3 separate regions of the Homo sapiens genome follow, and regions 2 and 3 are each linked to region 1. Evidence: promoter capture Hi-C in human tissues and cell types (Jung and others, 2019). All regions are on one chromosome and are shown on one strand. The core of a region is centred on a gene start or on the middle of the fragment in contact, and the rest is flanking DNA. Distances in the headings are between cores, read along the strand shown.

Region 1 (4,111 bases), core at 785-3,284:
GAATCATTAGCTGGCTGTTGCTACAAAGCCTCACCGTGTGGTTCGGTGATTAAGAAAAAAAAAATCTTTTAAACGTTGGCAAACCCGTTATTGGTTTGGCGTATTGGGTTTTTTTTGCTTTTGCTTTTCTTTTTGCTCCAACCACTCTGCCTGAAATATTTCTGCCCCCAGCATTGTGCCCTTAAACCAAAGGAGAGGAATTCTGCGGGCAGCAGCAGCTGGTACAGAAGTTAAAAAAAAAGAGAAACCCCCTCTACTAATATCTGTAACGACAGCACCGATGTAATTTGTTTTGAATGTTCATTTTTATTGGTGTTCCCTCTGCCAAAATGTGCTTGATTACAGAGGTTTGTCCTGTGATCATTGCACACTCCAGACAGGGGAAGGTGCAGCGATGAAGGTTCAGCTCAGGCCAGATCAAATCCCGGGCTGTTTAACGCTGAAAGGCTGCATGTTGCTATTAGTGTTAAATATATGGCTAATTATGCGTATGAAAATTAAACATCAGTGTTATGCTAATGGGGCGCCTTCAGCTGCGGATCTGAGCACTTGAGACTACCATTTAATCAAATGAATCAGTAACTAATACATCTGCACGTGTGAACTTTCACAAGATCATTTCCCCGTTCCCGTCACACCGCTAAATTATGAAAGAAATAATTATCAACACTTTCTAATTACCTAACAAAGTAATTTGGGATTCACCGTGGGGCTGGCGGGATGGGGAACCAACATCCACTTACAGCCAGGGTGGTGTACGCCACACCGCGAGGGACTGGCTGTATTGGTAGTAGTGGCGATGGGGTGGGGGCTCTTGTGCACTTTTTTGTACCTAGCACCCCAGAAGACAGAAGGAGCAGCGGCAGATCTTGCCTCCACTAGCCCTGCCCCCTAGGCCTGGTGGCGCGCGCTTTGGCCACTGGAGGTGAGGAAGATCCTGGGTGGCAACGAGAGACGTCTACACATAGATAAGGGAGCCTACCACAGGCCTGGGTTTGCTGCGGGTTTCGGTGTCCCCCAGGGACTCCTAAACTCTGGAAGTCGCGCTAGACCTCAGGAGGCCGGAAAATGACCACCTGGCGTCGGTGGCTCCAGCAGATCTGAGCCCCTAGGCCCCCTGGGCTCCACGCTGAGCCGCGCTCTCGGGGCGAGTGAGCCCGGGGCTCTCCGCGCATGGGGAGTGGAGAAGGGAGGGGGAGGAGGAGGAAGGCTGGGAGGGAAAGAGGATGTGTGTGTTGGGGGAGGGGGCGGTGCAGCCGCCTTTCCTGGGAGGAGAAGCGCGGGTTCCTGGCTCTCCACGCGCACTGCTTTAATCAGACCCGTGCAGCCTCGAGCTGGAGTGGCCAGCTGGGCCTGGAGCAATGCGAGCGGGCCCCAGGGAGCGACAGCGGCGTTGGCGCAGCGGCCGAGTGAGTGAGTTCGCAGGGAGGGCCCCTAAGCCCCGACTCCAGGGATGCGGCAGAGCGTACCGGGGAGGCGCGGCCGGATAGGCGCTGCGCTAGGCACAAGGCTCTTAGGAGAACCTCTGTCTGTTGGCCGCCTCGGGCGCCCCCAGTGCGCGACTCCGCGCTCCAGAGGCAGAGGTCAGTCTCCTCCTGAGCCGCCCTAGCTCTGCGCCGAACTGAGTGGCAGCGACGAGAAGCGGTCCCGGGTGTCCGGTGTTAGGGACCGCTGAAGGGTGGGGACAGTGGTAGGGGGGCGGCGGCGCGGAGCCGCTGGTTGGTTCCTGGGGAGGAAAGCGCGCGAGGGAGGCGGGAGGCCGATGAGCCGCGGGCCGCAGGGGCCCCGGCGCAGACGCCGCAGCCCATTGTGCTTCCTGCCCGGCGCGCTCTGTTGCAGAGGAGCCCCGGCCGGGAAGTGTGGATGCGTCTTACCCGAGGCCGGGCCGCCTCGCCCGCTCTAGTCCAGCGGAGCCCGAGCGCCTCGGACCAATCCCCAGTGATTATGCAAGACAGCGGACCAATCAGCTCCGCCAGCTCATGAATATTTATGACCTTCGCTGAGTCAAAGCTTTGAACCGAGTTTGGGGAGCTCAGCAGCATCATGCTTAGACTTTTCAAAGAGACAAACTCCATTTTCTTATGAATGGAAAGTGAAAACCCCTGTTCCGCTTAAATTGGGTTCCTTCCTGTCCTGAGAAACATAGAGACCCCCAAAAGGGAAGCAGAGGAGAGAAAGTCCCACACCCAGACCCCGCGAGAAGAGATGACCATGACCACCATGCCAGAAAGTCTCAACAGCCCCGTGTCGGGCAAGGCGGTGTTTATGGAGTTTGGGCCGCCCAACCAGCAAATGTCTCCTTCTCCCATGTCCCACGGGCACTACTCCATGCACTGTTTACACTCGGCGGGCCATTCGCAGCCCGACGGCGCCTACAGCTCAGCCTCGTCCTTCTCCCGACCGCTGGGCTACCCCTACGTCAACTCGGTCAGCAGCCACGCATCCAGCCCCTACATCAGTTCGGTGCAGTCCTACCCGGGCAGCGCCAGCCTCGCCCAGAGCCGCCTGGAGGACCCAGGTACGTGCGCTTGCCAGGGAGAGGGAGAGGAGGAGGTACAAGGGAGAGAGGGAAAGAAGGAGCGGGGGAGAAGAGGAGAGGGAGAGAGAGAGAAAGAGAAGAGAGGAGAGCGAGGTGGGGTGGGGGTGGGGAGGGCGCGGGAGCAGTGGAGGTTTCGAATATCAATCTATAGATCCTTGTCACAGCAAATAAATTTTTTTAAAAATTCCCTCAATTTGCAACTATCCAGCCAAGGATAAATCCCAGAGCGTCTCCTGGCACTGGCTGGGCCTCTGGGCGGCTCGGTGTGCAGAGCACACAATGCCCCGCTGGAAAACAGAAACCCACATGTGCACGTATTAGTCTCGGTAATTATTTATTGCGTAGCGCTATAAACAATGTATGCAATTAAGGGTAATTAAACCTCAACTACCGCCTGCAAAAATAGCAAACTTTCCCTGCAAAGGCAGGAGCTGAGCTCCTGGGAACGGCTCTATCCCTCCTGCAGCGTCCCGGGACAGGCCCTCGGATTTTGGGGGACCCTTCCCTGGCTTTCAGAGTTTCTTGAACGTTCTCTCCCTGGTGCTGCCTCCGCCACCCTTCGGTAGCCACTCGCTCTCGGCTGTTCGCACTAAAGGCGGCCCCTCGTATTAACAACGGGCCCTACTTCTGCTGTCCCTCCAGGGGCGGACTCGGAGAAGAGCACGGTGGTGGAAGGCGGTGAAGTGCGCTTCAATGGCAAGGGAAAAAAGATCCGTAAACCCAGGACGATTTATTCCAGTTTGCAGTTGCAGGCTTTGAACCGGAGGTTCCAGCAAACTCAGTACCTAGCTCTGCCGGAGAGGGCGGAGCTCGCGGCCTCTTTGGGACTCACACAGACTCAGGTACCTCGCCGCTGCCGCTCCGTTCTGCCACGCAGGCTTTCCGCGGCCGGCCTGCGCCCGGGTCTTCATTTGTTGCTCGCTGGGACTCAGGGTCGGGGTGTCACTGTGTGTATGTGTTTGTGTCCACCCCTGGCTCTCAGCGTGTCTCCTTCCTCCCTCATTCCCTCTGCCCTAGCTCTGTCACTGCTCTCGGTATCCCGAGCTGCCTGCCGTCCGGCCCTCTGTCCCTGGACAATCTGATTAGGGCGCAGGAAGGATTTCCCCAGACGATTTGTTTGGGAACTCAGAGGTCACACGTGCCTAAACAACTGGAACAATAGACTCCGGGCTTAATCCCTCCTTTGCCTTTAAATTGTGTGACTAATCACTCGGGGCCTGGGTCCGCGCCTCAGCCTCCCTCCTCCTCCTCCTTCTTACCGGTTGGGGGTGGGGGGAGATCCTTTCCTCCGCCCTCTCACCTCTCAAGTCCCAGACCTTAGAGAAGAAACGGGACCTTCCTTCCCGGCTTTCTGTAAGACTCCGGGGAGCCCGTGAGCGTTCCTGACGGCGGCGGGCGCGGGTTTCCGACGTCCGGTCCGGGATTTGGAGCAGAGCTGGAGAAAGCAAACAGACACTAGTGCAAGAATGGTTTTGAATCCAAAGAGAAGTTCAGCAAAACCTTGAGGCCTCCTTAGTCCGTCCCAACTCAAGGGCAGAAAAGATGGCGCATAGAAAAGTTGGGTCGCGTTGC
Region 2 (4,111 bases), core at 656-3,155, 540 kb before region 1:
GGCTGGAGTGCAGTGGCGCAATCTCGGCTCACTGCAACCTCTGCCTCCCGGGTTCAAGCGATTCTCGTGCCTCAGCCTCCAGAATAGCTGGGATTACATGTGCATGCCACCCCATGCCTGGCTAATTTTTGTATTTTTAGTAGAGATGGGGTTTCACCATGTTGGCCAGGCTGGTCTTGAACTGCTGACCTCAAGTGATACCCCGCCTCAGCCTCTCAAAGTGCTGGGATTACAGGCATGAGCCACTGGGCCCGGCCAAACTGAGACATTTTTAAGAAGAAAGGAGACAACAGGCATAAATCAGATTGTTAAGATTAGGAATTTGGTTTTGGATAAGTTTGAGATGTCTGGGAAGCAAACGCCGTACGGAAATACCAAGAAGACATTGGATTATGCAGATCTGAAGCTTAGAAGACAGTTCTGGGCTGGAGATATAAATTTTTTGGAGTCCCTGCCATGGAGACAGCATTTCAGTGAAAGAGTGAATGAGATCACCCACAAGAGGGAGTGCAGAGGGAGAAAAAGCCCTAGGACCGAGCCTGAGAGGCACCAAGGTTCATTCACAAGTTGGGAGTGAAGAAAATGCCAGCAAAGGAACTCCTCCACCGTCCCCTAGAGGGAGCCACTGAGAGGCAGGGGTAACATGGGGAAGAGGGGAGAAGCAAAAGCCAAGGGAAAAAGGTTTCAAAAAGGGAGTGTCCAGTGTGTCAAACTGTTCATTTTGTGTTGTTTAAAAAACAAAACAAAACACATTCTGTGTCCTTTCGTCTTTCCCTAGCCATCATCGTCTACAGACTGCCGTGGACCTGGAAATGCAGCAAGCTCCTGATGAAATCCATCCATGCAGGGTTAAATGCAGTTGCTGCCATTCTTGCAATTATCTCTGTGGTGGCCGTGTTTGAGAACCACAATGTTAACAATATAGCCAATATGTACAGTCTGCACAGCTGGGTTGGACTGATAGCTGTCATATGCTATTTGTTACAGGTCAGTATTTCAGTGTATTTACAAGCAAGTTATAAAAACAATTCAGAGACTGTAAATGTTTTCTTTTCTTTTTTTTTTTTTTTTTTTTTGAGACAGAGTCTCGCTTAGCCACCCAGGCTGGAGTGCAGTGCTGCGATCTTGGCTCACTGCAACCACTGTCTCCAGGGTTCAAGTGATTCTCCTGTTTCAGCCTCCCAAGTAGCTGGGATTACAGGTACCCACCATCGTGCCAGGCTAATTTTTGTATTTTAGTAGAGATGGGGTTTCACCATGTTGGCCAGGCTAGTCTTGAACTCCTGACCTCAGGTGATCCGCCTGCCTCAGCCTCCCAAAGTGCTAGGATTACAGGTGTGAGCCACCGCGCCCAGTGACTGTAAATGTTTTCTAAACATTCTTTACATTTGTTTCTATTATAACTATTTTCCCCTCAGAGAGCACCAGAATTGCAGAATTCACAGAACAAAATAATAAGAAATAAAGATTTCTTATACTGGATATGACTTTTAATCTGGATTCTCTAAAAACCAACTTATACTCTGCTCTATATCTTAATATGTAAAATTAAGAAATATCAGGCTGGGCATGCTGGCTCATGCCTATAATTCCAGCATTTTCGAAGGCCGAGGTGGGAGGATCATTTGAGCTCCGAAGTTCAAGACCAGACTGGGCAACATAGGGAGACTGTCTCTACAAATAAAGGAAAGACAGAGAGAGAGATCGAGAGAGAGAGAAATCAAGAGAGAGACTGATCTAACAATTAGCAATAAAGAGAATACCTATTTAAAAATCTGTGGGTCCTGGCTGGGCATAGTGCACTGCTCACTCCTGTGATCCCAGCACTTTGAAAAGCTGAGACCAGTGGATCGCTTAAGCCCAGACGTTTGAGATCAGCTTGGGCAACATGGCGGAACCTCATCTCTAAAACAAAAACACAAAAATTAGCTGGGCAGGGTGGTGCACACCTGTTGTCCTGGCTACTTGGGATGATGAGGTGCACAGCTCCCTTGAGACCAGGAGGCAGAGGTTACAGTAAGCTGAGATTATACCATTGCACTCCAGCCTGGGCAACAGAGCCAGACCCTGATCTCAAAAAAATAAATAAATAAAAATCTTTGGGGTTTAATTAAAATGGTTCCCAGAGGAATATAGGCTTAAATGCTTTTATTATATTTTTTGGAAAGAAAACTTAAAATACATAAGCTATTTACTTAGGTAACTATAAGGGAACAGCAAAATATACCAGGAAAAGTAAATCAATAAAGGTAAAAAAAAATCCATAAATAATTCATTTTCTATTGTGGTAACCAATTACCACAGACTTAATGGCCTGAAACAACATAAATTTATGACCTCACAGTACCTGTACATCAGAAGTCCAGATTGGCTTGTCTGGTTTCTCTGCTCTGGGTCTAACAAGGCCAGTATCAAGGTGTCAGCCTTCCAGGGCTCTGATTGGGAGACTAGGGTAGAATCAGCTTAAAGCAAATTCAGCTTGATGGCAGAGTCCAGGTCCTTGTATGTGCAGGACTGAGGTCCCTGTTCCCTTGCTGGCCATCAGCTGGGGCTGCCCTGAACCTTGGAGTCCTCTCTTCCTTGTACCCGGCTCCCTTCATCTCCCTACCAGCAATGGACATCCAGTCCATCTCGCTGGCTTGGAAACTCTCTGACTTCTCCTTCTCCTTCCTCCTCATCTCTTCTCCTCAACCAGATAAAGTTCTTACCTACCCCAACCCCTAGAGGTTACCATTCTCCCGGTGTTTATTCTCATTCTCTGCTTTTTAAAATACTTTAATCACATACTGTGAATCAATATATTGATTAAACAAGATGTTTAATTAAATAATATTGATTAATTAAACAAGATGTTTAAATATTGATTAATTAAATCATATATTGTTTAATTTTGCTTTTTAAATGAAACTTTTTTTAAAAAATGGTCTCATATATATTCTATTGCAACTTTTTTTTAACTCTACTGATTAAACTGTATTGATTCCTCTGGCTATAGTTCATTCATTTTTACTTTTGTATTCCACTGTATAAATATGCCACAAATTTACTTACCTGTTCTCTTGCTATTTTCAGTTAGAAACTATGCTGCATTGAATATTCATATATACATCTCCTGGTCCTCACATCTAAAGGTTTCTCTGGGCATATACATAGTAGTGAAATTACAAGCTCAACCTAAAAAGATAATGCTAAATTGTTTTCCCAAGTGATTGACCCAGATTATATTCCTGCCAGAAGTTTATGAGTTCCCATATCCTTACCAGCTTGCACCCTCTTTAAACTTTAAATCCTTGCTAAACTAGTTGGTACTTAATGATGTATTCTTGTAGTTTTAATGTTCATTTCACTTGTGTTTTATCTTCTAAGACACACCTGTTTGTGTCTTTTGTCTATTTAAAAAATGTTTCTCTTTTTCTTAAAGATTTATAGGAATTCTATATCGAATTCTTTTTCATTTATATATATTGCTATATCTTCTCCTAGTTTGAAGCTTGCATTTTCTCTGTTGTTAACATCTTTTGATAAACAGAAATTGTCAATTTTAATGTAACCAAATTAATCATCTTTTCCTCTGAGACTATCATTCTTTGTTTTGTTTTCTTTTGGTGACTTGTTTATGAAATTCTTCTCTACCCTGAGGTCAAAATATCATCTTATGCTTTCTACTAAGAGCATTAAAATTTTGTCTTTTACTTTTCTACTCTAGTACACAGAAAAAACAAACCAAAAAAACCCCAACAATATGAAAAATAGTTTTGTCTTTGATATTTAAGTACTTACTTCATCTGGAATTAATTTTAATGTGTGAGGTGATGTGATTCAACTTCATTTTTTTCCAGATGGGTAAACTATCTTCCCATCACCATTTATTGAATCATCTCTGCTCCTACTATTTATGTACAAAGCCAATTGCATCCTATAGAGTATCTTATCCTCTGTATCCTAGCCAGTGCAGTACAGAATTCAAGTGTGTAGAAGTACTGAAGTATGTAGAAGTGTATAGAAGCCATAAGAAGTAGAGAAGTAGAGAGAAAAATCTTTGACTTTTGGGGCCAGGCACAGTGGCTCATACCCATAATTCCAGCACTTTGGGATGCCTAGGTGGGAGGAT
Region 3 (4,111 bases), core at 600-3,099, 530 kb before region 1:
GGAAGCTCTTTGTGTGTTATCAATTTGTCTGGGGTAGCAGGGGTAGGCATTGTTGTGAAAGTTTCTTTGCCATGGTTTTTGGTTTGTTTATTTTTCAGCAGAGATAGTCTTTTTTCAGTTTCTTGATTATGTTAACTGAAAAGCCAGACTCTGTAATGTATAATACATATTTTATAATATTTACTATTAATATTATATATTTATATATAATATTTACTATAAATATCATATATTTATATATAATATTTACTATAAATATCATATATTTATATATAATATTTACTATTAATATCATATATTTATATATAATATTTACTATTAATATTATATATTTATATATAATATTTACTATTATTATATATTTATATATAATATTTAATATTTTATATATATAAAATTTTTCGCAGTAAAGAGTTTAATTAATGCAAAGCAGCCAAGCAGAAGGACTGGAGTTATCACTCAAATCAGTCTTCCTGAGGGCTCAGAGGTTAGGGTTTTTCAATGATAGTTTGGTGGGCAGGGGCAAGGGAATGGATGCTGCTGATTGGTTGGGAATGCAATCATAGGTGTGTAGAAAACAATCCTCATGCACTGAGTCCCCCTCTGGAGGAGGGCCACAGGACCAATTAAGTCATGAGTCACAAGTCCAGATGGGGTCAGCTCTTCACTACCTGACCAATCTTAGGTTCTACAATAGTGATGTTATCTATAGGAGCAACTGGGGAAGTCACAAATTTTGTGACCTCTGGCCACTTGACTCCTGAGCAGTAAGAGATTAGAGAAACTGATGCAGGTCAGGGGAGCCCCAACGTGGAGCTTAGCCCATGTAGGTTTTTGGCTTTGCCCAGGAAAGAATTCAAGAGCAAGCCAGAGGTGGAAGAAAACAGCTTTACTGAAGAGGCAGTGTTACAGCACCATGACTGCTCCTGTAGAGCAGTGCTACCCCCTAGGCAGAGAGTAGCCTGTAAAATATTTTAAAGAGGTTTATTCTGAGCCAATACAAGTGTCAATGACCTGGGGAACACAGTCTCAAGAGGTCCTGAGAAAGTGTGCCCCAGCAGTCGGAATTACAGTTTGCTTTTAGATATTTTAGGGAAGCAGGAGTTATAGGGAAAGGCATAAATCAATGCATGGAAGGTATGCAGTGGTTTGCCCCAAAAAGGTGGGATAACTTGAAACAGAAGCTTAGTTTATAGGTGGATTCAGAGACTCTTTAATATGCAATTGGTTAAAGGAATAGAGCTCTGTCTAAAAATTTGGAGTTGGCCGGGTGCAATGTCTCATGCCTGTAATCCTAGCACTTTGGGAGGCTGAGGTGTGAAGATCACTTAAGCCCAGGAGTTTAAGACCAGCCTGGGCAACAAAGTGAAACCGCATCTCTAAAAAAACAAAATTAAGAAGTTATCTAGGTGTGGTGGCATGTGCCTGTAGTTCCAGCTACTCAGGAGGCTAGGGTGGGAGGATCACTTAAGTCCAGGAAGTCAAGGCTGCAGTGAGCCATGATCATGCTACTGCACTCCAGCCTAAGTGACAGAGCAAGACTCTGTCTCAAAAAATAAAAATAAAAATAAAAAAATAAAAAAAAATTTGGGAGTCAACAGAAAGGAATATTTATGGAATAGCAAATTATTCTACGTAGTGGTTCTCTGCTAGGTTTAAGACAAATTTCTGCCCTGTAATAGCTACAATAAGGTCATGAGGATCTGGTAAAACATACTCAAATATCCTACCCAACTTTCTACACCTTGCTGAATTCAGCATCTCCTCTAAAACTCAGATTTTAGAGCTTTTCAGCTCCTGCTTCATCTCCTTTGCCCCTGCTCCCACCACGCCTCAGTCTGGGTGGAATGTTTCTCCTCACAGCATTCAAAGAACTTGGTTCCTGCCTCTAGCCCATCTTTTTTTTTTTTTCAGTTGCAAGATTTAATAGAGTGAAAACAGAGCTTCCATAAAATGGGAGGGGACCCAAAGGGGGTTGCCGTTGCCGGCTCGAATGCCTGGGTTTATGTCCCAATCATTGTCCCTTCCCCTGTGCTCTCACGTGATAGATGATTGGCTATTTCTTTACCTCCTGTTTTAGCCTAATTAGCATTTTAGTGAGCTCTCTTTACTACCTGACTGGTCTGGTGTGAGCTAAGTTGCAAGCCCCGTGCTTAAAGGTGGATGCAGTCACCTTCCCAGCTAGGCTTAGGGATTCTTAGTCAGCCTAGGAAATCCAGCTAGTCCTATCTCTTAGTACCACCTCTCAACAGGAAAACCCAAGTGCTGTTGGGGAGGTTGGCCAAAGACCGCTCTAACTGCTTCCTGCTGAATTGGGACGTAGTAGGGGTCGTGCAATTGAGATTTCCTCGGGAGGCGTGCCTTCGATGTCATTAACATCAGAGCATGGGCTAGCAGGCCGGTCCAGGGGTCCACGGTAGATCTTAGTCATGGACTGCTTCTGGGGCTCCATTTGAAGAACGATTTGTAGTTTTACAGCTTCGATTCTGGAAGAGACAAACTTAACAAGGAGGTTAAAGATACAGGGATTGAAATGTATGGCCTGCAGTGCAGGAGATTATTTCTTTGGCACACTTCACAGGCCCTGACTATCTGCTTGATAGTTTTGAAAAGGCCTGGTCCCATAAATAATGATTTGGCCATCTGATGGGTGCTATCAATGGCTAAGTGAAAGGTTTGGTGAAGGGTTTTAAGTAATTTCCATTGGTTAGCTGCAGGCAAAAGTATTTTCCCTTCTTTGGTGGCTAGCCATCCTGAGGGGAGGAAACTATGTCCCCGTGAGGTTCCCCATTCTATTTCTCCTGCTGAGTACAGAGGGGATTACCCCACACTAGGGGTCCTTCTACAAGCATTTCTAATGGAGGGTCCCACCTTGTGGCTCTTTTGGCTTCAATATCCACTTGGCAGTTCCCTTCCGATGACCCCGACAGTGTAAGACTGCCACCTCTTTAGGTTTCTGTACAGCTAATAATAATCTCCTAATGGCTTCCTGATGTTTGATAGGTGTTCCCTCGGAAGTTAGGAATTCCCTTTCTCTCCATATTGCTGTGTGGGCATGGAGGACTAGGTAAGCATACTTAGAGTCTGTATATATATTTACCCTTTTTCCTTTTTACCCTTTTTCCTTCTTCTAATTCTGGTGCCCAAGTGAGGGCTATTAGTTCTGCCAGCTGAGCGCTAGTTCCTGGAGTGAGGGGATTACTTTCAAGTATTCCATTATCACTGACCACTGCATACCCCGCTTTTCGAAGTCCTTTTTCTACAAAGGAACTTCCATCAGTATACAAGTTGAGGCCAGGATCAGTCAAGGGAATCTCTAGAAGGTCCCCTCGAGTGGTGAAGGTTTGAGCAATTACTTGTTGACAGTTATGTTCTATTTTTTTCTTCATTGCCTGGAAGAAATGTGGCTGGATTAAGAGTTGCACAAGTGTGCAGTCGCAGCACTGGTCCCTCAAGTAATAGAGCCTGATGTTTAAGCAAATGGTTGTCTGACAGCCACAAGTCTCCACACAGTGAGATCTCTTCCCTGTATCATTTTAACTGCTTCAGATACTAAGACTGCTACTGCTGCCACTACCAGTAAAAAATGAGGCCAACCCGTTGTCACTGCATCAGTTTCCTTACTCAAGTATGCCATGGGTTGCAAGCTGGTCCCTCGGACCTGTGTAAGGACTCCTAGAGCTATTCCTGTTTTTTTCTGTTGCATATAAGGAAAAGTCTTGCCCTGTTGGCAAGCTTAACACTGGGGCTTGGTTAGGGCCTTTAGGGCCTGGAAAACCACTTCTGCTTCAGGTGTCCATCTTACTAAATGGGTATTGGCTTTCTGAGTTTTCTTAATTAGTGTATATAATGACCTGGCTATTTCGCCGTACCTGGGAATCCATATTCGGCAGAAGCCTGTTATGCCAAGGAACCCTGTTAGTTGCTTTAGTGTTTTGGAATGAGGATAAGCCGGTATAGGCTGGATACATTTCTCACCAAGGGCAAAACTTCTGGTGAGTGTACTCTTTCTGCAGGAAGTAAAAATGGCCTTACTAAATAAATTAAATTTATGTTCAAGTACTATTTCTTTACAGCACCTGGGAACAAGCATTTCAAACAACTCCTTACC

Evidence for each region. The method cuts DNA at HindIII sites, captures the fragments that hold promoters and counts their contacts. A contact is called where the count stands out against the background at its distance.
Region 2: a fragment that was not itself captured here is called in contact with the fragment with the promoter of DLX1 in region 1 in 1 of the 25 tissues and cell types used here (spleen).
Region 3: a contact is called between a fragment that was not itself captured here and the fragment with the promoter of DLX1 in region 1, in 1 of the 25 tissues and cell types used here (lymphoblastoid cells).

The regions. Positions count from the first base shown.
Region 1 is chr2:172,083,473-172,087,583 of GRCh38, forward strand. DLX1 (distal-less homeobox 1) reads left to right here and starts at 2,035. Exons shown (of 3, transcript NM_178120.5): 1 at 2,035-2,518; 2 at 3,182-3,381. The coding sequence starts at 2,206. RefSeq lists enhancers at 455-1,068, 1,069-1,680, 1,681-2,294, 2,144-2,263, 2,295-2,906 and 1 more and a silencer at 1,754-1,863. The HindIII fragment of the contact is 6,806 bases long and covers 1-3,982 here.
Region 2 is chr2:171,540,807-171,544,917 of GRCh38, forward strand. CYBRD1 (cytochrome b reductase 1) reads left to right here. Exons shown (of 4, transcript NM_024843.4): 2 at 779-987. Among named protein-coding and RNA genes, the nearest start is that of CYBRD1, 20 kb to the left of the region's middle. The HindIII fragment of the contact is 5,525 bases long and covers 1-4,111 here.
Region 3 is chr2:171,558,126-171,562,236 of GRCh38, forward strand. It overlaps CYBRD1 (cytochrome b reductase 1), which reads left to right. Exons shown (of 4, transcript NM_024843.4): 4 at 1-4. Among named protein-coding and RNA genes, the nearest start is that of CYBRD1, 38 kb to the left of the region's middle. The HindIII fragment of the contact is 4,703 bases long and covers 1-4,111 here.